Linked DNA regions of Homo sapiens: regions 2, 3, 4 and 5 are each linked to region 1. The links are contacts of gene promoters, found by promoter capture Hi-C in blood cells and fetal thymus (Javierre and others, 2016). All regions are on one chromosome and are shown on one strand. The core of a region is centred on a gene start or on the middle of the fragment in contact, and the rest is flanking DNA. Distances in the headings are between cores, read along the strand shown. Region 1 holds the start of IFNK (interferon kappa). Region 2 overlaps MOB3B (MOB kinase activator 3B). Region 3 overlaps LOC105376002 (a long non-coding RNA gene). Region 4 overlaps LOC105376002 (a long non-coding RNA gene). Region 5 overlaps MOB3B (MOB kinase activator 3B).

Region 1 (4,931 bases), core at 1,303-3,802:
ATGGCTGCAAGAATAGTATATTCCCACATACTGTGTGTTATTCATATCAACTGATTGGAACTGAGCCTTAGGGAGAATCCACATTTTCTTTCAAAATACTCTAGAGTAGAAATGTTTAAACAAATAAAATAGTATTGATCCCATTTCAGATGTATAATAATTTTTCCTTTTTTAATGTATCTTCTTTTAAAAACAGCCTTCTCTTATTAAATAAGAAATACTTGGCCAGGTACAGTGGCTCACGCCTGTAATCCCAGCACTTTGGGAGGCCGAGGCGGTCGGATCATGAGGTCAGGAGATCGAGACCGTCGTCGCCAACATGGTGAAACCCTGTCTCTACTAAAATACAAAAAAATTAACGAGACATGGTGACGCGTGCCTGTAATCCCAGCTACTTGTGAGGCTGAGGCAGGAGAATCGCTTGAACCCGGGAGGCGGAGGTTGCAGTGAGCCGAGATCGCGCCACTGCACTCCAGCCTGGAGACAGAGCAAGACCCCGTCTCACAAAAAAAAAAAAAAAAAAAAAAAAGAAAAGAAAGAAAGAAAGAAAAAGAAATACTTGCTCACCACAGAAAACTTAAAAAATCCAGGTAAATAAAAATATAAAAATAAAAACCACCCATTATTCTTCCAGTTAGAGATAGTGACTCAAAATTTTTGCATATATATCAAGACATTTTTTCATATATATATATATATATATATATATGCATATGTCTATATTTAACAAAAGTGGTATCAGCCTCTATATGCAAATATAAGCTTGTTTTTTAAACTACAAAGTGTATCTATCCAAGTGACCAAATATATTCCCACACATAATTTTTAGTGCTTACATATATGTTTTCTACTGATGGCTTACTTAACTAAGTATTTATTGCTGAACATTAAAATTGTTTTCCATTTTTTGCTGTGACAAACTTCCTTACAGCTAAGTCTTTAAGGGCATCATCATTATTTCTGGGGAATCAGTTCCTAGAGGATCAATCGCTGAGTCAAATATTATGTACATTTTTAAGGCTTTTGATCCATATCACCACTTTCCTCTCTAGGAAGGTTGTGTCAATTTATAACGCTATATAAAAGGGCTTGTTTTCTTAATGTTTTCCAAATTTGGTCAGCCCAAGAAATCTGCCCATGAAATAAGAATTTATGTAGATGGAACAAATAGAATAATATATATATATATATTTTTTTCCGTAAGAAACCTTTCCTAAAAGCCAGGATTTTAAGAAATCCCACTTACCCACAATTAGCCTTTGGTGCAGTCAACTGATTTAGACAAGAACTTTTTAAGCCAACTTTTCAATCAAAGTCTGCCATGTTTGTGGAACTGTGGCTATTTACCATTTTACAATGACTTAATTGCAAATTAATGTATATCTTTTTTTTCTTGAGAAGATATAATAAGCTACCTTTTTAAAATGACAATCCATTTTATTTTCCTGGAGAAAAGAATCCATTTGCTTTAACCATAATCAGAGGAAGGTTATTTGGTCAAACAAAGTAAAAACCATAAACAATAGATAGCCATCATTACCACAGTAACATTGGTCCAGCTAGGAATTCACTTAGCTAAATGGGTGACTTCCTACTCACATACCTCCTCAGTGCACAACAAACACAGGAGCAAACAAAAGCCTTTACAGAATCCAGAACCACCAGGCAAGAAGATATAATAATCAAGCAATCAAGCAAAAGTTTAAAAATACTGCCTAAACTGCACCAAAAAAAAAAAAGAAAAGAAAAGAAAAGAAAATGATACTACAAGAGAGAAGTTAATGAGGCAGAAAGATATTCTCAAATATAAAACCCCCTCCAGGACTTTTAAGAAAGGTATCAGAGGCATATGGAAGGCTAAGTCCAGGATGGATTTAACTGAAGAAAAGGATATTTAGAGATTATCAACATTTTCTAATGCAACAGAAAACCAAGCCAACTTAGTCTCCTACTTAGTAAGTGCCAGCTCTATTCTTCATCTTTTTGGAGATCCAGAAAAATCAAAAAGAGAAAATATCCAAATATAGAAGCTTAATTTAACAAAATTGGAAAAACCTAAACTATACTGTGCTCTGGTGACCTAGCAATCAAATAATCACAGTCATTTGGTCAATGTCTATGATTAACTCAATGAGACAGGATGTTTGGCTATAGCACCAGGTACAAAAAATATATTTTCATGAAGGATCACTCCCTCTTATGTAATAGATTTGGGTGAGTGAGTGAGTGAGTGAGTGCATGGACTCACAGCTTTTGGCTTTCTGAAATACCCTGCATCAGTCTTGTTATGATGATTCCTTAGTGCTGGGATGGATCATCCAGGCATTTAAGGTAACACGATGGTAATTCTTTGCTCATTTTTCAGGGAAAAAAAAAAGTTATCACTTCCAAAGTCGGCATAGTCACCCGAAGTAAAAAAAAAAAAAAAAAAAAAGCCTCAGAGGCAAAGGAAAGGGGCCGCAACCTTGGTTAACTGTGAAATGACGAATGAGAAAACTCCTCCTGCTGAAGATATTCAGGTATATAAAGGCACATGAAGGAAAACTCAAAACATCATTGTCATATACACATCTTCTGGATTTTTTAGCTTGCAAAAAAAATGAGCACCAAACCTGATATGATTCAAAAGTGTTTGTGGCTTGAGATCCTTATGGGTATATTCATTGCTGGCACCCTATCCCTGGACTGTAACTTACTGAACGTTCACCTGAGAAGAGTCACCTGGCAAAATCTGAGACATCTGAGTAGTATGAGCAATTCATTTCCTGTAGAATGTCTACGAGAAAACATAGCTTTTGAGTTGCCCCAAGAGTTTCTGCAATACACCCAACCTATGAAGAGGGACATCAAGAAGGCCTTCTATGAAATGTCCCTACAGGCCTTCAACATCTTCAGCCAACACACCTTCAAATATTGGAAAGAGAGACACCTCAAACAAATCCAAATAGGACTTGATCAGCAAGCAGAGTACCTGAACCAATGCTTGGAGGAAGACAAGAATGAAAATGAAGACATGAAAGAAATGAAAGAGAATGAGATGAAACCCTCAGAAGCCAGGGTCCCCCAGCTGAGCAGCCTGGAACTGAGGAGATATTTCCACAGGATAGACAATTTCCTGAAAGAAAAGAAATACAGTGACTGTGCCTGGGAGATTGTCCGAGTGGAAATCAGAAGATGTTTGTATTACTTTTACAAATTTACAGCTCTATTCAGGAGGAAATAAGGTATATTTTTGGAATTAAAATTCCTTTTCCCTCCGAAATCTCTTTCTCCTTCTCCTCCTCCAACTTCTTTTTAAGGATTGTTGTGCTGTCCTGTAAGCCTGTCCTCAGTTGGACTGGTAGCCTCGGAACATCAGGGACACTCACCTCTCTAAGGAGAGGTAATGCCAACCATCCTCAGGGTGACCAAGAGTCTCCTTAGAAAGTCTTTAAGACATTTTTAAAGGAATAAGATTCCCTCTCCGTCTTCTTCTATTCTCTCTTGCTCTTTTCTGTGGCCATTTTGAAAGAGCTTTGCTATATATACCACCTGTGGACTTCACCAAGACAATGGCTAGAGGATAGGGAGCAGAGAATGTTGCAAAATGGTAACATTTCAATGACTTAACTGTTTTGCTGCCAAGGTTGCTTATCCTATGAAAATTCAGCACATTAAAAGAGCTTATACATGCTCCCTAGAGTCAATACTCTTGCATTTTCCCCCTCCTGCTCGGGGGGAAAAAGGTTGACATTTCTGGCCCATTTCCTTCTCAGCTTGGTTTGTTTGAATTGATGCTTGTGGAATAGTATTTCATTACTTTAAGAGTGAAGATCCATAGTGAAATTGGATGGATGGTTGAATTAGACGACCATTAAGCTTTCATTTAACCTTTGAGAGTCTGTGATTCTAATGTAGCACACTCTTCATTCCTGATGTATATTGTTTGATTCCTACATCTAAAGGCATGGAAAATGCTGTGGAAAAGTATGGTACAGAATCTGTCTTTTACTGTTTTTCATGTGCCTGAAATAAAATGTCCAGAGTCATAATATGGAACAATTTTACATTAGATTTTCCTAGTTAGAAGACTACATTCTGTGAGTTAATTTAACTAGCTATTCCAATAATACATAATACTTTAATATCTTTTATCTTTTTAAAAGTTACTTTGCAGCCAGACTACCTAGATTATTTACTTTTCTAGCACGGCCCTTCATCTATATTAATTCACCACCTAGCTGACATGGATTTTCTCTTCCTCTCGCACCTCTATCTACCCCATTTCAGAATCATCTACCTTCAAGCAAGAATTAACAGAGATTGTGGCTACGCAAATGCACCAAAAAAGGGTGAAATATATCTGAAATGTACCTGGTTCTGCCCTTGGAAGCCATTTCCTGCTCATGCCACTAACAGCATGCTGCCAAACTGTTCAGATTCAAGATTATTCCAAGCGCAGGGCCCAAATGTTATAGCCAAAGAAAGTCTTATGATAAAAGTGAGGCAAATTTCAGCCAAGAAGTTAGAAGAGATGTTTAAAAGAACAAGAACAAATTGTGGATCATGGTATATGCAGGCTATCAGCAGAAGGATCAGACAATAAAATGAGTTAGTGCAAACCATTTAGTAAAAATAACTATCAGCAGAGTTGTTCCAGATTAAAAATAGTACTACAAGCTTGTAAAGGAGTTAGGACATGCAAGCTACTGAGCATAAAATATATACTTGCTATTTTTCATGACTTTCTCTAATAAAGTCTTTGCCTGTTCTCTCTAATAACTTTACTGGAATGAGGTCAATTACTTTAGTCATTTATGGTTGCAGTCCTGCCAAGTGTTTGCTATCCTGGAGGAAAGAGAATGGCTGAGAAAGCCGAGCTGAGCTTTCAGTTAATATACATTTTCTGAATGTGTGGCAGGGGTAGAAGTCAGAACAGTATGCTTTTTTAA
Region 2 (4,931 bases), core at 1,266-3,765, 170 kb before region 1:
TCTGGAGGCTGAGGCAGGAGAATCGCTTGAACCAGGGAGGTGGAGGTTGCAGTGAGCCGAGATCATGCCACTGCACTCCAGTGTGGGTGACAGAGCAAGACTCCATCTCAAAATAAAAAAAAAAAAAGAAAGAAAGAAATAGACCTTAATTTTCCTTTAGTGTGGGCTGGACTTAGTAACCTACTTCTAATGAATGGAAAGTGGGAAGAAGGTTGGGTTATCACTTCTGACTCTAGTCTGTAGAAGATACATGGTGATTTCCATCTTGGTTGCCCTCTCTGATATCAGGGCATTCTGGGAGTAGCCAGCAGAAACCTAACGTTTCAAATGAAAGGTGTTTGTCTCTGAGAAGCGGACAATTAGGCCTAGACTTGCAGGATGAGCAGGACTTAAGCTGAGGACATGGAAGCCAAAGGAGTTGTACATACAATGGCCTGGGGGTGAGAGGACATGGCCCATTCAAAGAACTCTGGGAAGTTCCCTATGGAGCTATCTGCATATCTCTTTCTTCTTCCAGATCTGCCTCCAGGCATTATTCTTGTCTATTGGTCCATTTACACTTAGATGCACAATGTAATAGGACTCTATTAGCACCAACATCTTGGAATTAATACTAATTAGTATTATGTTCCAGTACCACATTATAGCTTAACTGGCTTTGCTGGTGGTTTGTATATCTGACCTTTATGTATAAAATTGTTTCATAGGAGGAAGTGCTCCTGAGACCACACAAGTGACCACACAAGTCCCTAGGCTAGGTACTGCCTGTAACCTGCCTTATCTTCATGCCTTTATTGTGGTGGGACAGGTGGGTGGTGGGAGAAAATATAATGTTATGTTTCAATAAATAAAACCTTCCTTCATTCAAACCCCAAGTTAATACTCGCTTGACATTTTTGGAGCCAAAGAATCTAATCTTATCTGGCCGGGAAATTTAAACTAGTCTAGACCACACATAGCAGCCAAAATTTGGCAGGCTTATATATGGGCATCAAGCCATACTGACTATTTACATTTTCATGTAAATGCTCATGAAGACGAATTAATCCCTGCTGTGACTGACATCCTGCAGCAATTTCCAACACTGCAGAGAACATTAAAAAAATAAAAAAGTACAATTACTATTTGGTGTCTCTGACCAACAGCTCCCCTAAGATACTGAGCAGCTTCCTGAGGTGGAGGTTCTGATGGGAAATCTAGGGAGAAATGTTGAGCAGAAGGTACTGAGTTTTATTTATTCCTATCAATAAAGTAGGAGAGAAGTGGCTTAGCAAAGAGAAGCAACCATACTAGGGGGCTTAAACAATGAACGGAAATGCCTCATGTGGCAGCATGGAGACAATGTGAACACATCTGGCAGCTCTTTGTGGAGGGAGTGGTTGTTAAGAGTGGGTTATAAAAAGTAGCTCTTGAAGGTAGAGCCTCTGGCTCAGTGGTGTCTGAGAGAATGTCCCACAATGATGAAAATGTTCAGTATCTGTGATATCCAATACAATAGCCACTAGACATGTGGCTTTTGAGCACTTAACATGTGGCTAGTAAGGCTAAGAAACTAATTTTTAATTTAATGTTAATCTCAGTAGTCACAAGTGGTTGGAAAAGCCTTTTCAAGTATAAAGTTTGATTTTTCTGATTAGAAAAGTGACACATGTTTGTGACAGAAAACTTAGAAAGCCCCAAAAAGTATATACCAAAAAAAAAAAAAAAAAAGCATTATCTATAGTAATACCAAGAGAGAACCACTGTTGGCACTTTTTGCTCTATTTCCTTTATCATCTGTGGACATATGATTAGTGATTTTCCAGTACAGTTTTGTATCCTGCTTTTATTACTTAATATTATATGCTAGCAATTTTCCCATGAGAGACATCTTCAACTATAATTGATCATATTTTAGGCCCTGAAACAAATCAGACCACATCTCATCTCTGACCAAATTAGAAACAAAGAGAAACCCTAAAACAAAAATGAACCACCCAACACCCTATAAACTAGAAGCAAAAGTTCTCTGGACATCAACAAGGGATGAATAAATAGGACTGGCAGAGACATGTGGCTATTTTTGCCACATCCCCAGTTACCCAGCATAAGGCAATTCATTGGAAATAATCATGTTTCTTTGCTATTTTTCCAATTGACACTTTAGAATACATCTGCCAAGTCTCCTAAAATGATATCTGGCAGGCCCTCCCACTAATCTCTGAGCCTTTGCATTATCCTGAACAACCACCAACAGCCGATGCCACCCTGGACACACATATACTTGTCATCTGAACTGGCAAAGCCCCATGAATGCACACTCCAGCTACTCTTGGCAACATGTACACCCCCTCTGCCCCTCTGCTGCCATGGTGGGCTTTTTTTTTTTTTTTTTTTAAGACGAAGTCTCGCTGTTGTGCCCCAGGCTGGAGTGTGATGGCACGATCTCGGCTCACTGCAACCTCCGCCTCCTGGGTTCAAGCAATTCTCCTGCCTCAGCCTCCTGAGTAGCTGGGATTATGGGCACCTGACACCACGCCTGGCTAATTTTTGTATTTTTAGTAGAGATGGGGTTTCACCATTTTGGCCAGGCTGGTCTGGAACTCCTGACCTCAGGTGATCCACCCGCCTAGGCCTCCCAAAGTGTTGGGATTACAGGCGTGAGCCACCACGCCTGGCCCACAGTGGGCTTTAATCCATGAAGGGCTCTCTAAGCAAAGAGAAACGGTTGTCTTGGATGAAAGATGACAGGGCTGCTGACACATCATATCAGTAGTAATCCCAGTAGGTCAGTAATCTTAGTAGTGACCCATCAGTAATCTCTGTAGGTCAGGCTGGGAGGATTCTAGGGATGATGTCTTTTACAGGTGGGGAAACTGAGGCTCAGAGCCATTACATGCCTTGCCCCATGTGGTAACTAATGTGGTAGCATAATAGTGGAAATGCCATTGTAAAGGCCAAACTGTCAGCTTCACAGGCTGCAGCTCTTTCTTCTATAATGGCTGAGTCCACATCAAGCCTTCTGGCTGAAGGCCAAGGAAGCCGCCTGACAAGAAGCAACCCAGAGGCCTCTGTACAGATGATGTTTCAAAAGAAAAGGTCCTTTCAAAAGCCCCACAATGGCTCTTCATTGCTGGCTACTTTAGGGAGTAGCTCTGGCTCATGCGAGAGGTTCTGCTTCTTTTCACAGTCCTGACTTGATCTTACCATTGCAGGCCAACCTTGGCTGCTGCACTCACCCAAGCAACTCTGAGAGAAGTGTATGTGTGGCCTGGCTACCTCTTAGGGCAACATGAGGTCAGTGTATTCTGGGGCCTGGATAGGCTTGTGGCTGGGCCTTTATGAGACAAGGCTTTCCAAATCTTTGGTCTTCAAATTGTTCTAAAAAGCACCCGTTTTTAGAGGATAGTTTTGGTGGTAGAGCCTACCATAAATCTCAATCATTAGCCAAGAGGCACCTACACACTGGGGGTGGGACATGCACTTTGGTGTGACAAAATGGCAGTGATAAGGGATGGAGAGGAATGTGGTTCAGATGTTGAGAAACTGCCCATCACATCTGCTGGAAATAATAGTAACAAGTCTGGCCAGGTACCATCTGTAATCCCAGCACTTTGGGAGGTCAAGGCAGAAGGATCACTTGAGCTCAGGAGTTCCAGACCAGCCTGGGAAACGTAGTGAGACCCTGTCTCTACAAAAAATTTAAAAATTAGCCAGGTGTGGTGACATGTGTTTGTAGCCCCAGCTACTTAGGAGGCTGAGGTGGGAGGATCACTTGAGCCCAGGAGGCTAGAGGATGCAGTGAGCCATGATCACACCAGCCTGGGTGACAGAGTGAGACCCTGTCTCAAAAAAAAAAAAAAAAAAAAGTAACAAGTGTGAGGAGATGAAATAATATATGTCAAGAGGAACTAACAGATTATCTGGAACTGAAGAAATGAAGTTATTAATTATTTCTTGAAAATGCTTGTGCGTCATGCACATGGTAAGAATTCCACGAAGGGGTGTCTGTCATATGATGATGTGGGAGGATGAGGAGCAACAATGAAAAGGACTGCACTTCCTGTGTGTGTGTGAAGCCCTCCCATATGGAGTTTCACTTCCTTCCCACCTCCCTCTCCATGCGGCAGTGGTGGCTGTGTGGTTTGAGGCCAGGGTGGAGGCATGAGGAAAATAGAAAAATCTAGAGACACATCACATCACAAAGATGAGCAGTGCTGCCCAGAGTGTGTTCCATGGATCATGATATCTCTAAGATGTCAATGAGTGATAGCAAAAGAAAAAAGTCCAGTAGCCAAATGCAGTTAAATTGGGCGGGCTACACAAAATTGAACAAGTTTCTTTACTGGATACCTTCTCAAAGGCTTTGATATGCTATTGTACACTGTAAATCTTCAAGGGTGGAGACGATGTAGTATTTTGTAAACTCATTTGACCACAGAAGGAAGTCTGTTTTCACTGACCATCACTCAGGACTGGCATTTTGAGGAGCTCTCTTGGCAAACACTGATCTTCAGATTTTTCTCCTTTTTGCTTTACTTCCCCACCCCACTGAGCTAACTCCCAATCCTAGAGGAGAAGAGATGAAGTGCTAAAAATGGTAATTCTCACATTTGAGGGTAATTGTCATCTAGGGTCTTTTCCCTCAACGTGTGGTCTGGGAACCAGCAGCATCGATATCATCTGGGAGCAAAATGAACATTCTCGAGTCTCCTCCTCTCAGATGTACTGAATCAGAACTTGCATTTCAGCAAGATCCCTGGTGATTCACATGCACATTAAAGTTTGAGATGCAGACTGAGGGTGCTTGGTACTAGGCACTAATCTTAATAATTCTGATTTAGTGTATCTGGGGTGAGGCCCAAGAATGTACTTATGAAGTACTTCCTCCAGGAGATTCTGATGCACGTGTGTGTGTGTGGACTCCTGAGAAACCCCTATGGTCCAAGCAC
Region 3 (4,931 bases), core at 778-3,277, 160 kb after region 1:
AGGATATTAACGGATGTGATAGAAGCAGAGCCTTGAAAACTGTTTGTGACAGGGCCTGCTCTATCACTCTCATGCCTTTGTTAATGCCAGTGTGAACATGCCCAGGCTAGACTGCTGGTCCCAGGAGGAATAGTGACACATGGACCAAAGCAGAGTATCCTGTCACCCTAGTCGAGATCAATGTAGATTAGCCACACCCAGCAGACCCCAGATATGTAAGCAATCGCTGTCAACATCAGCAGAGCCACCTTGCTGACGCCCAGCTGGTCCCCAATATGTAAGCGTAATAATTTATCGTTGTATGGCTCTGAAACTGTAGGGTTGTTTGTTACATATTTTAATTGTAGCAATAGATAAACTAGATGTCATAACTCTCTGAGTTCCTGGCTTTAAGAACAGTAGTCTCAGAGATTAAGATCCTGAAAAGTACTATAATGGGCAAAACAGAAGTGTCGTAATTCACAGAGGTCCAGAGAAATAAAAACTAAAATGCTATTAAATATATTTTAAAATCAGATTCTTCAGCATGAAACGTCTCTCTGGTGGGCAACCCATCTCTTGAATCACCTTCAATGATTAAGGAGAAATGACCGTGGCATTGTGATTTGCTGAGACAGGTGCTCATATAAGTGCTATGCTATTCAGAAGGCACCACTTTTTAAAGTTTTATACTGAGCTTCTTAGCCTAAAATTGAATATCTTTTTTACTTCCATTTCCCTTCCTTTTATTTTCAGCAAATGCCAGAAAAATGGTAGCATCATCGCTGGCCTCTTCACCAATTACCACAACACTTAAGTACACATTTTCCAGATATGTTTTCCGGTCTGTCTATTGATAAATTACACATGTTTGATTTCTCTATCCAGTCCCAGTTGACCCACTTGTGGTATACAAAAGAGAAATACATTATTGATGGTGGAAAAAAATGTGAAGTATTGATACTCACCTACTTCTACTGACTTTTCATCGCATAACCCTGGCCCATTATGTAAGAAGACATGTGAGGATGATATTCCACATCAGGAGATTTGGGATGGAGTACATAGCACAATGGAGCTTGACAAGAGGACAGAGAAATGAATGTCAAATTCCTGACCTTTAAAATTAAAAGTTTCTATTAATCTTTCCATAATCTGTCTTCTCTGTTCTTCCCTCACTAGATAAAGATGCTCCCAGCTGAAGAGAGGGAAAAAATTTGGAAACATAAAGAGAAATAGACACTGGTTTTAGGGATAAGCCCCTTTTTGGGTCAATAAGTAATGAGCCAAGTGATAGGCAAAGAGACTATTAGACCCTCAGATAAGTGTAAGTATAGAGGAAACAGTGCTATAGAAGATATTGATATAGCACACTAACATTCAAGCCTTGCTCTTCCTCTGGGCATATGAGACATTGTACTTCTCCTTGAAGATAGGTATGAACTTGTGAATTGCTTTGGCCACTAAATTGTAAATGAAAGTGACTTGGCTCATTTCTATGTCCAAGCATCTAATTACTGGAGCTAGACTTTCCAGCCTGCTGCTTCTTCTTACATCAAGACAGAGGTCATGGAGAGTTCTCTGGAATTGTAGTGGATTTTATATGAGTGAGGAATAAAATTTTGTTGATCTTTTGGGTATTGTTTATTACTGTAGCATAACTTCCCCTATCTGTGTTCTGTTTCCCATCTGGGTGGCTGGAAGGGAGAGACACACAAAGATCTCAGGCCACTCAGCATGGGGTAGTAGAGCTGAAATTACTGCACTGGTGTCAAAGAGAGGGCTTGTTCACAGATCCTAATTGTTCTATTGCCCCAAGAAGAAGGGTAGCAACTACCACATGTCCCTAATAAAAGTAAACTTTTCAGCAGATGCAGAAATCTGGATTTCCAAAGTGTTCTCAAGGTCATGACAAGGGGATGCAACCACGAGTGGTGGTGTGAACCATTCAATCTGAGACCCAGATGAGTTCTGGGATTTGGCCACTTTCAGTGGAAGCCCATTTGGGGGTTAACACTAAGTATAAGATGTTATGATTGCATATATCAGGAGTTGTCAACTCTGGACAACCACAGAGACACTTTCTCATATATACTACATCACTGTGTAAGCACTTGAGTTAGAATTAACTGCAGAGAGAAGGGAGAAAGGGGAAAGTTCACAATCTGATTCAGTGTAATGCTGAAACAAGAAATTACTGAAGTGGTTGGGTTTACTTGGAAGTGACCAGATCAATTGTCTATCAGGAAATATGAAGGGCTTGAGATAGAAATCAACTTCAGTTATTAAGAAAAAGCTCTAGTTTTGAACATCTGAAGTTGTGGTATGAAAATCAGGCATACTTCATATTTTTGTAAGAGGATTGAACAGAACAGAATTTTAAAAGAGTGGGATCTAATGATTTTACATAGAAACACAAAGCCATGCTATTTCACAACTTGGTGTGGTTGGCATTGGTGAGGAATTGTTGTATTACTTCACCTGGTTAGAAGCCTGCTGGGCCTCTTGAGAACATAGACCTGTCTGTTACCATTGGCATGGGATTATGCCTACCCAGCTGCTCTCATATGGTCAGCCTCTGTGGCTCAAACCCTTAACCCCTGGCTTATTGTGGCAGGTGGGTCTCTAGCCAGGTGCTGGCTTCTTCAGAGATAGGACACTTTGTCAAGTGATCAACCTGCCCAATGAATATTAGTGTTCAGTGACCCATAACACTGGGCACTAGTGTTGGGTGTGACAGATTATTTTTTCTTGGTTAGCACTTCTTTGTTGACTTACCTTGAAAATAAAAGTATTTTAAAATATGCACATGAGATTAAGATATCCACAAAGTTACAATGTACTCATTTATATCGTGCTACATATTTGATAAGCACTCATTAGAAAAATAAAATTAAGTTGCAAATGCTCTTAGATTAACTAGTTAAAATAATCCTTCAAATGCTGAGAATGTGGCAAAAGAGAAATATAGTATGCCTTGAGTGATGTAGGAATTTCAAAAGAAGTTGAAATGTGAGCAAACTATTTCCTAAGTATATTAATACAGGACCTTCATTAAATCTATTTAACAACTTCATGAGGAAGACTTATGCATACTTGGCAGATGAGGAAACTGAGATGCAAGAATAACTTCTCCAATGTCGTGTAACCACTAAAATAATAGAGCTGTTTTTTTTGTTTCTAAAAATCATCAAATCTAGCTCTCTACTTTAGCACATTTCTGTACAGACTTCATACCAACTTTTTTGATGGTTTGGATTCTTTCCTCATTCTTATTGGTGTTCCTGATAGGTCAGATTTCTTTAGATAGACTTACATGAGATGATCAAAGTTTTCATTCACTTTTTCTTGGGTCGACTGGTGTGATAGCGGCAGCTGAATTCAGAAAAATGAAATACCCATTTAGGTTTGTTTCAGTCAGTGGTTCTCAAACTTGGCTGTACATGAGAATCAACTGCAGAGCTTTCAAACCATACTGATACCTGGGATCCACCTTGGTCCAATTACATTAGAATCCCTGGGGGTGGAGCCTGGGCATTGCTCTTTTACAAAGGATCCCAGGCGATATTAATGTGTAGCCAGGGCTGAGAACCACTGGCTTAAGCTAACTTTTCAACACACTGAAAATCAGATTCTAACAGGATAAAGCAATTAACACAGGTACTAAGTCAATGCACTCAGCATCTTATCAAAACAAGTAATCATCAGTAGGAGGTAAAGACAAGAACTCTAATCAGTCATTAAGAAGGACCACCAAGATCTGTAACTCAGGATGTTATTCCAGAACTTGAGAAATGAATGAGCTCTCTGTTGTAGTATTGGCATTGAAATCTTACATTATTTCAGATTTTTAAAATGAGAAGAGGGAAAATAGAGGATGAAACTATTGGGACTGATGCTTTGGGATTTTCCCATGCTTTCGTATTTATGAAGCCAAGTGTTTGATCAGGAATGGGTTGTCTGTGTATAATAAAACTGCAATCAAAGAGGAAGTCTTGTGCTCAGTGCCAGGGACATAAGGAACCCAATTCCTGCCTGAGAAAAATTTACACTATTTGGAAAGACAGGACATATATCAGGAGCTACCTTAAAGTAATGTGACTGAATCTACAATACATTTAAAACTCAAGTCGTCATTTTAAAAAAGTAATATCTTGTGGTAAAAAGGGTGTCAAAATTAATCACAGTAGGACATCCTAAATGCTAGATAAGTGTTACATCCCTCAAATCATATCCTATAATTTTGCCAAAAAAAAAAGCTTAGTTTCCTCATAGACTATCATCTCCTGCCAAGTCTCCTTTATCTGTGTCTCCATTGAACACCAAGTCATGTTAACTTTACCTTTTCAGTATTACTCAATTCATTGTCTTCTCTTTAGTTTAGGAAACGGCTTTTTCTCTACTGGATCATAGAAATAGTCTTCTGTCTGCGTCTAGCTCTTTTCGAATTCTAGATCCTCTCAGGCTAGAAAAGCCACAGGATGGCTCCCCATTGCTGGCTGGAAAGGTTCAAGGTCCAAAATGTGGCATACAGCCTTCCTACTGTAAACTAAAAATAAAATCCTAAGCCCCTACTGACTAAATGAACACCTCTTGGCCAAGAGGACCCAATAAACCCTTAAAAACTAAATTACCAACCATGATGGGAAAGGAGGTCAGACATGCCTGTTTATACCCCTTCCCTTTCTGAGTTTAGCCACAACTGATCAGCATTAAAGTGATTATAAGATTAACAAAACAGACTCTGTCAATAAAATGCCAAATTATAAATGGAACCTATGGCTATGCCAGGCAAGCGTTAGGTCACACTCCCCCTACACTTAAAGAAGAAACTATGTTCTAATTGCCACAATATTTTTCTTTTTCTCTAGCAGCTAAACAATCACTGGCCTCCAGATAAACAATATTAAAACAATTTGTCGCTTCACCAGACACTGAACTGACTCCCAGCT
Region 4 (4,931 bases), core at 263-2,762, 140 kb after region 1:
GATCTAATCAATGGACTTAAAATAGTCAGTAAACTGTGCTCTAAACAGATGTGCTGTCATCTAAGCTTTGTTCTTCCACTTACAGAACACAGGCAGGGTAGGTTAGCATAATATGTTTGTTTGTTTTTTGAGATGGAGGTCTTGCTGTAATGGCCAGGCTGGACTCAAACTCTCGGGCTCAAGCAATCCTTTCACCTCAGACTCCCAATTATAGGTGTGCCACACCACCTGGCTCAAGATTTAGCATAATTCTTAAGGGCCCTAGCATTTTCAGAATAATCAATGAACACTGGCTTTAACCTAAAGTTACCAGCTGCATTAGGCCCTAACAAGAGAGTCAACCTGTCCCTTAAAGCTTTGAAGCCAAGCATCGACTTCCCCTCTTTAGCTATGAAAGTCCTAGATGGTATCTTCTTCCAATGTAAGGCTATTTCATCTATACTGAAATTTCATCTATCCTGAAAATCTGTTGTTTAGTGTAGCTTCCTTCATCAGCTATCTTAGCTAGATCTTCTAGATAACTTCCTGCAGCTTCTACATCAGCACCTGCTCCTTCACCTTCATTTTTTTTTGTTATAGAGATGTCTTCTTTCCCTAAATCATATGAGCCAACCTTTGCTAGCTTCAAACTCTTCTTTTGCAGCTTCCTCACCTCTCTCAGACTTCATAGCATTGAAGAGAGTTAGGGCGTTGCTCTGGATTAAGCTTTGGCTTAAGGGAATGTTGTGGCTGGATTGACCTTCTATCCAGACCACTCAAACTTTCTCCATATCAGAAATAAGACTGTTTTGCATTTTTTAAAAAATCATTTGTGTGTTCACTGGAGTAGCATTTTTAACTTCCTTCAAGAACTTTTCCCTTGTATTCACAACTTGGCTAACTGGCACAAGAGGTCTAGCTTTCAGCCTATCTTGGCTTTTGACATGTCTTCCCAAATCAACTTACTCATTTCTAACCTTTGATTTCAAGTGAGAGACATGCAACTCTTACTTTCACTTGAAGACAAAGTCATTGTAGGGTTACTAATTGACCTAGTTTCAACATTGTTGTTTCTCAGGAAATAAGAAGGCCTGAGGAGTGGGAGAGAGTCAGGGAATGTTTGGTTGGTGGAACAGTCAGAACAAACACAATATTTATTGATTAAATGTATCCTTTTATATGGGTGGGGTTTGTGGTGTCCCAAAACAGTTACAATAATAACATCAAAGATCACTGATCACAGATCACAGTAATAGGTATAATAATAATTAAATAGTTTGAAATATTGCTAGAATTGACAAAATGTGACACAGAGACATGAAGTGAGCACATGATGTCGAAAAAATGTCCCTGAATAGAATTTCTGGATGCAGAGTTGCCACAAACATCAACTTATTAAAAATGCAGTATTCACAAAGTGCAGTAAATAAAGCACAATAAAACAAGGTATCCTTGTATATGTAATCATGCTTTACTCTTTTGGAGAGTACATAGTTGTAATTAAAAGCAGAGCTTGTGACATCACTCCTTTTTTTTTTTTTTTTTTTCAGGTCAAGAAAATTACATCCCTCCCAGAATGCGAAGATATAAACATGCTCTAAGGAGGTATGACAGCTATGCTCAAGATTCAGGTGCTCAGATAATTAGACGAGGTAAGTAGCAGAACTTTCAAAATGATGGTCGAACGAGGGCAGTTCCCATTTGTGTGTGGCATGCACACACATATGCAAACACACACATGGCCCAGGCCAATGGCTTACCTTTCCAATCAGTTTTCTTACCTACTTAACAGAAGAAATGTATTCTTATATTTTCCTCTCTGTTTTAGCTATCTAACTATTGTGAAGAAGTAACTTTGTGAATTGGTGTGTGCAGTTACCTAAAATATCTTGAGTACAGATACCCAAAATATTCTGGAATTTTCTTTTGCGATTGTCTTCAATGCTAGCTTACAAGTTATTCAAGATAATGAGTTACTTTACTTTATAGTCACCTCTTATATTTATAGAAAGTCATATTCCATTTGATCCCTCACTTTATCACCCTTGGCTCTGAATAACTTCTGGATGTTTCAAATGTGCTTCCAAAGGATAAAAATTTTCCATCCCTTAAAGAATGAACATTTGAGGATGTTAAGAATGCATTCTCGGGATGATGGCAATTCCAAAGAGGACTCCCTGTGCCCTGGACTGCTCCTCTCCCCAACACAAGATTTTGAGCAATTGCAACGTTGTTAAAATAACTAGTTGTTAAAACTCATCTCAGCTGGGTGCCATGGCTCATGCCCTTAATCCCAGCAAGGCGGACAGTGGGGGATTGCTTGAAGCCAGGAGTTTGAGACAAGCTTAGGCAACACAGAGGGACCCCATCTAAAAATAAAAAGCTTATCTGTTGTTCAAGGATACACCATTTATTTGATGGTTTATTTAGGTTACATGGTTTATTCAAACCTTGAACATCGAGGAAACCTCAGAGGGGTGAATGTACTTAAGACGCTTGATAATGTTTTTGTGAGTTGATCAAGAATTCTGTATTCTTGCTTCAGTTTTATGTTAAGAGAAATTGGAGTCTCCAAAGAATAAAGGCGTACACTTCTAGTAAAAAGCCAGTGGTGTACCAGACATGGATCTGGCTTTGCTGATTTCCTCCCCTCCAATTCTCTGTCTAAAATCCTTGCAAGACTTGATGGCAAGGCAATGATAGAAGGTTGTGGTGTCGTAGGATGCTTACTAGATTGGAATCAGAATATTCCTGGCCAGGAATCTGGGTGTCGATCAAATGTGGCAGTACCTTTAAAAGCACTTGCATAGTGCCTGGCACCCAACTGGCACTTCAATGCTGATTTTGAATTTGAAATTTAGAAGTTAAAGCTATAAAAGTGAAGGCCTACTGAATTTTATATACACAGCTTAATAATGGGATAAGAATGCATGCTATAAGAGGTCAGGCTTTTAATAACCCAATACAGTGAATCTCTTAATTCTCAATAAAAAGAGTGTAAAAAAGATGAAAGAATCTAGCCTATAATTATTCTGCCAGGTCATGAGGTATAAGCAGGTAATTTTAGAATGTTCTATAACTGTACTTTATAGATTGCATTAAGTCGGGGTAGTAATTTTTTAGGTTTCGTGTGGCAGGGTTTATTTCTGAATATAGAAATGTTCAATTCATCATGCAAAAATTTTTACATAGGTAGACCTCTTCACTATCCCAAGTTTATTTTATTTCCATCTACGCACACTCATTCAAAACATGCATGCAATGTATGTAGGCATGCATGCACACATGCACACACTCACACACACACTCCTCAGTACATGAAAATTAAAGCTAAGTAGTCATAATTGGTCACCTTTTGCCTTATAATTTGGATTTTAGGAAAAATAACCCTCTCCTATTTTCCTCCTTTTGAGAAAACTGTAGAGAAATATATTAGCATTCTCAAATGTATTGGCCTCATGTATTTTCTTTCTTCCCTTGCATGTAAACCTTGTAGTCTTGCCAAGGTTTTCTAATATTTGCATGTCAAACACAGATTACAAGCCCCCTGGGCTGGATTCACACTGGCCTCTTGGCTTTTTACAAAACGTTGCATAGCCTTGTCACTAGCTTGATGTTAAAGCAAATAATGCTAGCATCCTTAGTAAGGCCTTTGCCCTGAAAACTGAGAAAATCCGACCACAATAAACATGCTGAGAATAAAATCAGTCTCTGCTATAATTATTAGGCCAGAGACAGGTAAGCACAATTATTTCTGTACTGAAAAAAAACAGGTGGGTAGTAGCTGGCTCTGCACTGAGGGGGCAAAATGCTTGAAGTCCAGGGATGTTCAATCTATAAGCTCATATGTGTCCAACACCCACTTATTCCCTCCAATACATTTTCCCCTTGATGCTATGCCTTCTTTTTGTTTTTAAAAGCAGTCTTAAATTGGTTACCATTTTTTTCCCTTCTCATACTTCTTCCTGTGCTTATAGGCAAGGGACAGTAAATTAAGCATATCTAAGGATTTAATGCTCAAAATCACCTTGGATAATTGGCTTATGGGGTTGAGGCATGCTTTTCCCTCAGTCTCCTAGTATTAATGCTATTTCTCCTCAGAGGGTACATCTGTCAATAATTGATGAAGCCTTCTTGGGTAAATGAGCTGTTTCTTGGGACATTATAAATCATATTTGGAATCAAGTTTATTTTCAAGCTGCTTTTGAAGTCTCGATGCTGTGCTAACTGAACAGAAAATGTTAAATGTTTGAGGGAGTAGTGCAAGCTCTCAAATGCTAACGGCATGAGCTGGACTTAAAAAAACAAATGGGATTTATACCCTCTGAGGCAACAAGAACACATCTGGTTTGTCAGCAAAGCATATGTAAGTTTGGCAAGGGTCTTCCAGAAGGAAATTGCCTGAGTATCTACTGCGTGCTGAGCACTGCGATTCACGATTCACTTGGGGCATCTGAGTTAATCTTCAGAACAAACTCATCTGGCAGGTGTTACTACAATTTCTACAGATGAGGGAACTGAGGCTCAGAAATGTTGATAACCTCTTCAATGCACTCAGAGAGCAAGTGGTAGATTTGAAATTGGAATCAGTTGGATTGTGAAGTCTTCAGTATTCTCGCTTCACCAGAAGTCAGACATGCTCTATGACGAGGTCTTCATTCTGTGTTCAGTGGTGTCCTGGTGATCTCTGTGTATTTGGTGTTAAGATTGAGGCCAACAGTCTCTTATGTTCAGTGGTGTTCTGGTGATCTCTATGTATTTGGTATTGAGATTGAGGCCAACAGTCCCTTATCAGCAAACCTCTTCTGGGTCTCTCAGCTTTGTTCCAATTCCAGTACAGATACACTTTTATCTGTTTTATATAGAGAGGTTTGGCATGATCTTTTTTTTTTTTTTTTTTATGTTTTAGACAGCATTTCACTCTGTTACCCAGGCTGGAGTACAGTGGTGCA
Region 5 (4,931 bases), core at 731-3,230, 130 kb before region 1:
CCTTCTAAGCATGTTCCTGCCTTCAATCTCCCCCATCTCAGTACGTGCCTTGGCCATCTCCCTTTCTCAAGCCAGAAACCCAGTCAACATCCTCCGTGTCTTCTTCCCTACCCATTCCATAATCCACAGGCAGATCCTATCGATGCCACTCCTAAATTCATCTTGAAAGTTTCCTCTTCCCTCTACTGCCACTGCCCTCGCCTGACCACTGTAAACAACTTTCTGAATAGCCTCCCCATTTTTAGTCTTGACAATTTCTAATGAATTCTCCACACAATGGTCTGAGTAATCATTTTAAAAATAATAATTAAAGCTATCACTCTTGACCTCCTTTGATGGTATCCCACTAATGCTTCCAATAAAATCCAAGCCCTTTGCCGTGGACTGAAAAAGGCTTATATCAGGAGTACTCATAGAGTGGTCCCCAGACCTGCAGCATCACTTGGAACTTGTTAGAAATGCAAATTTTCAGGCTCCACCCCAAACTTACTGGATCAGAAACTCTGGGAGTGGGGCAGCAATCTGTGTTTTCACAAGCTCTCTGGGGAGTTGGGATACATGCTTGAGGCTGAGAACCACTGCTTTATGTGCTCTGCCTCCTGCCTATCTCCCTGCGACCCCACCGTTTCATTCCACTCCTCTTTCTGATTACGCTGCAGCCAAATGGGCTTCTTTCCAATTACTTGAACATGCCGAGAGCTTCTCTACTTCAGGTCCTGGCATGCGCTGTTCTCACTGCTCGGACACTTTTCCCATCTCTCTTGAGATGCCTCCTCTGACCACCTTTTCTAATGTAGCTTTCTGACCCACCCTCGATTCTTTGTGGCTATAATCATGGTTTTCTTCACAGCACTCCCCATCACTAGTTGTATTCTGTCTTTATTTTCTAGCTTCCTTATGATTATCCGGTTCTTTCACTAGTCCATTAGCTCCCTGAGGCCAGGGCTCTGTCTGTTTTATTCATTAATGTATATGCTATGGAAACCACAGTGCTTGGTACATAGTAGTAAATAAATTAAAGGCCTGAATGAATTAGCACTTTTAAGTCACTTTTAGTCTAGTGCAGAAAGAGAAAATATGTGGCATACAGCTCCCATTTCCAGCCTGGACCGAGACCGAGGAGACATCACCACTTGATCTCCAGTCTTTCCCTCTTAATCCTGGATATGGCCTCTGAATTTTTCACAACCCTCCACTCTAAGCATCTGCTAAAAAAATAATTAAAAATAAAAATAAAATAAAAGTTGTTACTTGGAATGAAAGTAGAAGTACACCAATTTCCTAAATCACCAATTTCCTAAATCATATTTCAATAGTTGCATATATATATATAAAATATATATGTGTGTATATATATATTTGAGACGGAGTCTCGCTATGTTACCCAGGCTGGAGTGCAGTGGTGTGATCTTGGCTCACAGCAACCTCCGCCTACCTCCGCCTCCCAAGTTCAAGCGTTTCTCTTGCCTCAGCCTCCTGAGTAGCTGAGATCACAGGTGTATGCCACCACGCCTGGCTAATTATATATATTTTTGAGACTGAGTCTCACTCTGTGGCCCAGGCTGGAGTGCAGTGGGCGATCTCCGCTCACTGCCTCCTCTGGGGTTACAGGCACCCGCCACAACTGTGGCTAATTTTTGTATTTTTAGTAGAGACGGGGTTTTGCCATGTTGACCAGGTTGGTCATGAACTCCAGGCCTCAAGTGATCCTCCCCACTCAGCCTCCCAAAGTGCTGGGATTATAGGCGTGAGCCACCGTGCCCGGCCAAGTTGCTAATATTATTTATGTACCAGACACTGCTAACATTTCATAAGCTTTAGTTCCCACAGGGTAACTGGCAGACAGGTAATCTGAAGCCAGGCTGTCTGATCACAGAGCCTGCAATCAGGGCGAAATCCTTTCACCATAGTGAGAATATATGTATTGGAGTTCAGCAGTGAGAGACTAAGGGCGGAGAACTTAACCCAGTTGAAGGAATCAGAGGGTGCAATGGACTGAATGTTTGAGTCCCCCCAAAATTTGTATGTTGAAATCCTAACCCCCAAGGTGATATTAGGAGGTAGAGCCTTTGAGTGGTGATCAGGTCATGAGAGCAGAGCCCTCACGAATGGGATTATTACCCTTATAAAAGCCTTAAGCTCCAGAAAGCTTCCTCCCCGCTTCCACCACCTGAGGACACACTGAGAAACTGGCAGTCTACACCAGAACCTGACCATGCTGGCATCCTGATCTTGGCTTTTCCAGCCTCCAGAGCTGTGAGAAACTGTGTTTACAAGTTACTCAGTCTACAGCATTTTCTTATAGCAGCCTGAACAGAATAAATCAGAAAAAATCCTGGAGGAGTTCTGAAGTTTGAGTTAGTCAGGCAGAGAAGTAGAGAAGCAAAGGCATGAACCCTTTACTCACACCTACTCTTTTCTGAAACGAGGTCTTGGGAAGAAGAGAGCTTTGGTTAAATGTACCACGTTCACAGGATGGTGTTTGGCTGAGCACATCCTATTCAGAGGCGACTGCCTACCTCTCACCTCAGCAGATTCTTCAGTAATAATCTTCTTTTTAAAATATTGGCAGTATATCTGATCTTGGTGAAGTTTATTTATATAAATGAATGGTTGGGTGTGGTGGGTAAAGCTTAAAAGGTCCCTAGGGGAAGGGGGCAGAGCTTTTTAAGTTATTTTTGTGTCCTGGATAAACTGATTCACCTCTCTTGGGTCAATAATCCCGTCATGTAATGAGTTATGTTATTGTTGGAAGTGTGCTATTCATGTGCAAAATGTGATGCTGAAAACGTTTGGAAACCATAGACATCAATTATTAAACTATTTTAATGAAAGTAAGTGTTTACACTAAATAGCATCTCTGAGTGTGATCCAAAAAATTACAAATCATTCTCAATTGACTTGCAATCAAGAGAAATCTGCGTGGAGCTGGAATTTATAGCACAGCCTACACTTCCATAGCAACCAACTGATGTCACATACGGAACTCAGACTTCCCTGACGGGCCCAGGATTCAGCTTGGAGGTATCATATGTTCAGTTAAGCATAAAAGTGACTTCAAATTTAGAGAATGCTTTTCTTCGAAGAGATTAATTTTACTTAATTTGATTTTGAGAGGAAGTGCTTAAAGCAAATAAGATGATTCTGCTCCAGTATTTTAACCAAAAATAGATGTAGAAATCTCATATAATTCACAAAATTGAGCTTGACATGATGCCATGCCTCTATAAGTCTCTATGGCAAAAATACAGAATTCTCAATGCAGAGGAGAGATAATTTCATATCAGATTCAATGCCTTTCTATAAGAGTTCCTGGAAGTACTATCCCCATATAAGCAGCATCAGAATCCCCTCAGAGGCTTGCAAAAAATCCAAATTTGGGTCTCACCCAGAACTACTGAATCAATCTTTGAGGGCAGGGCTCCAGAATCTAATATTTTAATACATTTTCTAGAGGATTCTTATTTAGAACCATTTTTTGGTGGAATTCAAATAAAGAAACAAGTTTTCTTTATCATATGTGGGAACAGGTAATTCTTGAACATCATTGAAGCTTAATGAGAAATAACTGCATAGCAGGCCCCTAGGTTGTAAGAGTATTCTATAATGCAAAGAGAACGTTTAAAACATCTGCAAATATTTGGAGGAAAGCAAAATGGTATACCGTAGTAGGACTAGACTTCTGGGTTTCAAAATCCAGGAAATTTTAAAAATTGGGCAAGGGGATCAACATAAAGTCGCCTACGTTTATGTTGCCAAAAGGGCACTTAAAAAAGTCTCACTAACTCTCACTCATTTCATAAAAGGGCATTTTTGCACCACAAAAGAAAAAAAACAAGAAAGCTATAATCCCAGAATAAAAGACAATCCTTTACATGAACAACTGTAGGAATAAAGACGAGCCATTTGATGTCCTGTCCTATTCATTTTCATGAATGGAGCTCTGATACTTGGGAAGCTCTCAGGCAGTGGAGAGACCAGTGTTTTGGAAAGATAAAAAAGTCAATTCTAAGCTCTTCCTCTTGCTAGCTGTGTGATTTGGGCATCACTTACATAACCAATTGGTCTTGGTTTCCTTATCTATAAAATAAAGATAATCATCGTCATGACTATTAATGACCTTACATGGATTAATCAACTGACATACAGAAGGGACTCAAAAAATGTCCACATTCCCTGGTTTTGTCTTCTATGGATTTACAATCTACTAAGACCCTTGTTGGACTTGAGACAGACTTGAGACAAAGTGTTGCTTGAGATAAAAAGGAGGAAAAGTGGCTGATTAACTGATTGTCCCTAGCATTTTATTTTTAGCTTTTTTTCTCTTGCTTTAGATTCTGACGGAGTTTCACATTAGACAGATTCTTAATACCTGGCTATTACTGACTATCTGAAATAGCAGTTCTACACCTTGTTTGTCACAAAATGCACAGGGTACAAGTAAATCCTTGCTATAGGTGTTTAAAAGGCTGTCTAGGTCAGTTCTGCTTTTTCTGTTACGCCTATTTATGAAGAAGTTATTTCCCCAAAGTAAATATAGGCCAGGTGATTATTTGTAGAGGGCACAAAAATAACTTAAAAAGCTTGTTTGTATAGGGTGCAGAGAAGTGCATGATTATTTATATAGGGTGCAGAGAAGTGTGTGTGTGTGTGTGTGTGTGTGTAACAGAGAGAGGTAGAGAGAGGAGGAAGTGGAGGATGAGGAGGTAGTTGCTCTGTTGTGGAACTCGAAGGACACCATCGATACTGTATTCTATGTGAATGATGTCCCATTGCTAATTGTGTTCCCAAGGAGTTGTGCAAAATGGTAGACCTGGGTGGAGGAAGGCATATAGATAAATATTATTCTACAAACAGAGTTCACACATGGCTCTGCAAGGAATTTAAGAAAATAACTTCATAGCTAACATTCTTTGAGTGCTTACATGTCA

The links. The method cuts DNA at HindIII sites, captures the fragments that hold promoters and counts their contacts. A CHiCAGO score of 5 or more calls a contact.
Region 2: a fragment that was not itself captured here is called in contact with the fragment with the promoter of IFNK in region 1 in 16 of 17 cell types (naive B cells, total B cells, M2 macrophages and 13 more); the score reaches 33.7 in naive B cells.
Region 3: a contact is called between a fragment that was not itself captured here and the fragment with the promoter of IFNK in region 1, in 1 of 17 cell types (neutrophils). The highest score is 7.5, in neutrophils.
Region 4: a fragment that was not itself captured here is called in contact with the fragment with the promoter of IFNK in region 1 in 1 of 17 cell types (neutrophils); the score reaches 7.2 in neutrophils.
Region 5: a fragment that was not itself captured here is called in contact with the fragment with the promoter of IFNK in region 1 in 9 of 17 cell types (naive B cells, total B cells, M0 macrophages and 6 more); the score reaches 21.7 in naive B cells.

What each region holds. Positions count from the first base shown.
Region 1 is chr9:27,521,738-27,526,668 of GRCh38, forward strand. IFNK (interferon kappa) reads left to right here and starts at 2,553. Exons shown (of 2, transcript NM_020124.3): 1 at 2,553-3,224; 2 at 4,270-4,761. The coding sequence starts at 2,600. The coding sequence ends at 3,223. The region is part of intron 1 of MOB3B (MOB kinase activator 3B); the gene reads right to left. The HindIII fragment of the contact is 1,828 bases long and covers 2,029-3,856 here.
Region 2 is chr9:27,348,544-27,353,474 of GRCh38, forward strand. The region is part of intron 3 of MOB3B (MOB kinase activator 3B); the gene reads right to left. Among named protein-coding and RNA genes, the nearest start is that of EQTN, 54 kb to the left of the region's middle. The HindIII fragment of the contact is 6,818 bases long and covers 1-4,931 here.
Region 3 is chr9:27,683,297-27,688,227 of GRCh38, forward strand. LOC105376002 (a long non-coding RNA gene) reads left to right here. Exons shown (of 3, transcript XR_007061441.1): 3 at 868-913. Among named protein-coding and RNA genes, the nearest start is that of C9orf72, 110 kb to the left of the region's middle. RefSeq lists an enhancer at 1-1,094. The HindIII fragment of the contact is 4,418 bases long and covers 1-4,236 here.
Region 4 is chr9:27,667,492-27,672,422 of GRCh38, forward strand. LOC105376002 (a long non-coding RNA gene) reads left to right here. Exons shown (of 3, transcript XR_007061441.1): 2 at 1,530-1,631. Among named protein-coding and RNA genes, the nearest start is that of C9orf72, 96 kb to the left of the region's middle. The HindIII fragment of the contact is 1,618 bases long and covers 704-2,321 here.
Region 5 is chr9:27,388,735-27,393,665 of GRCh38, forward strand. The region is part of intron 2 of MOB3B (MOB kinase activator 3B); the gene reads right to left. Among named protein-coding and RNA genes, the nearest start is that of EQTN, 94 kb to the left of the region's middle. The HindIII fragment of the contact is 334 bases long and covers 1,814-2,147 here.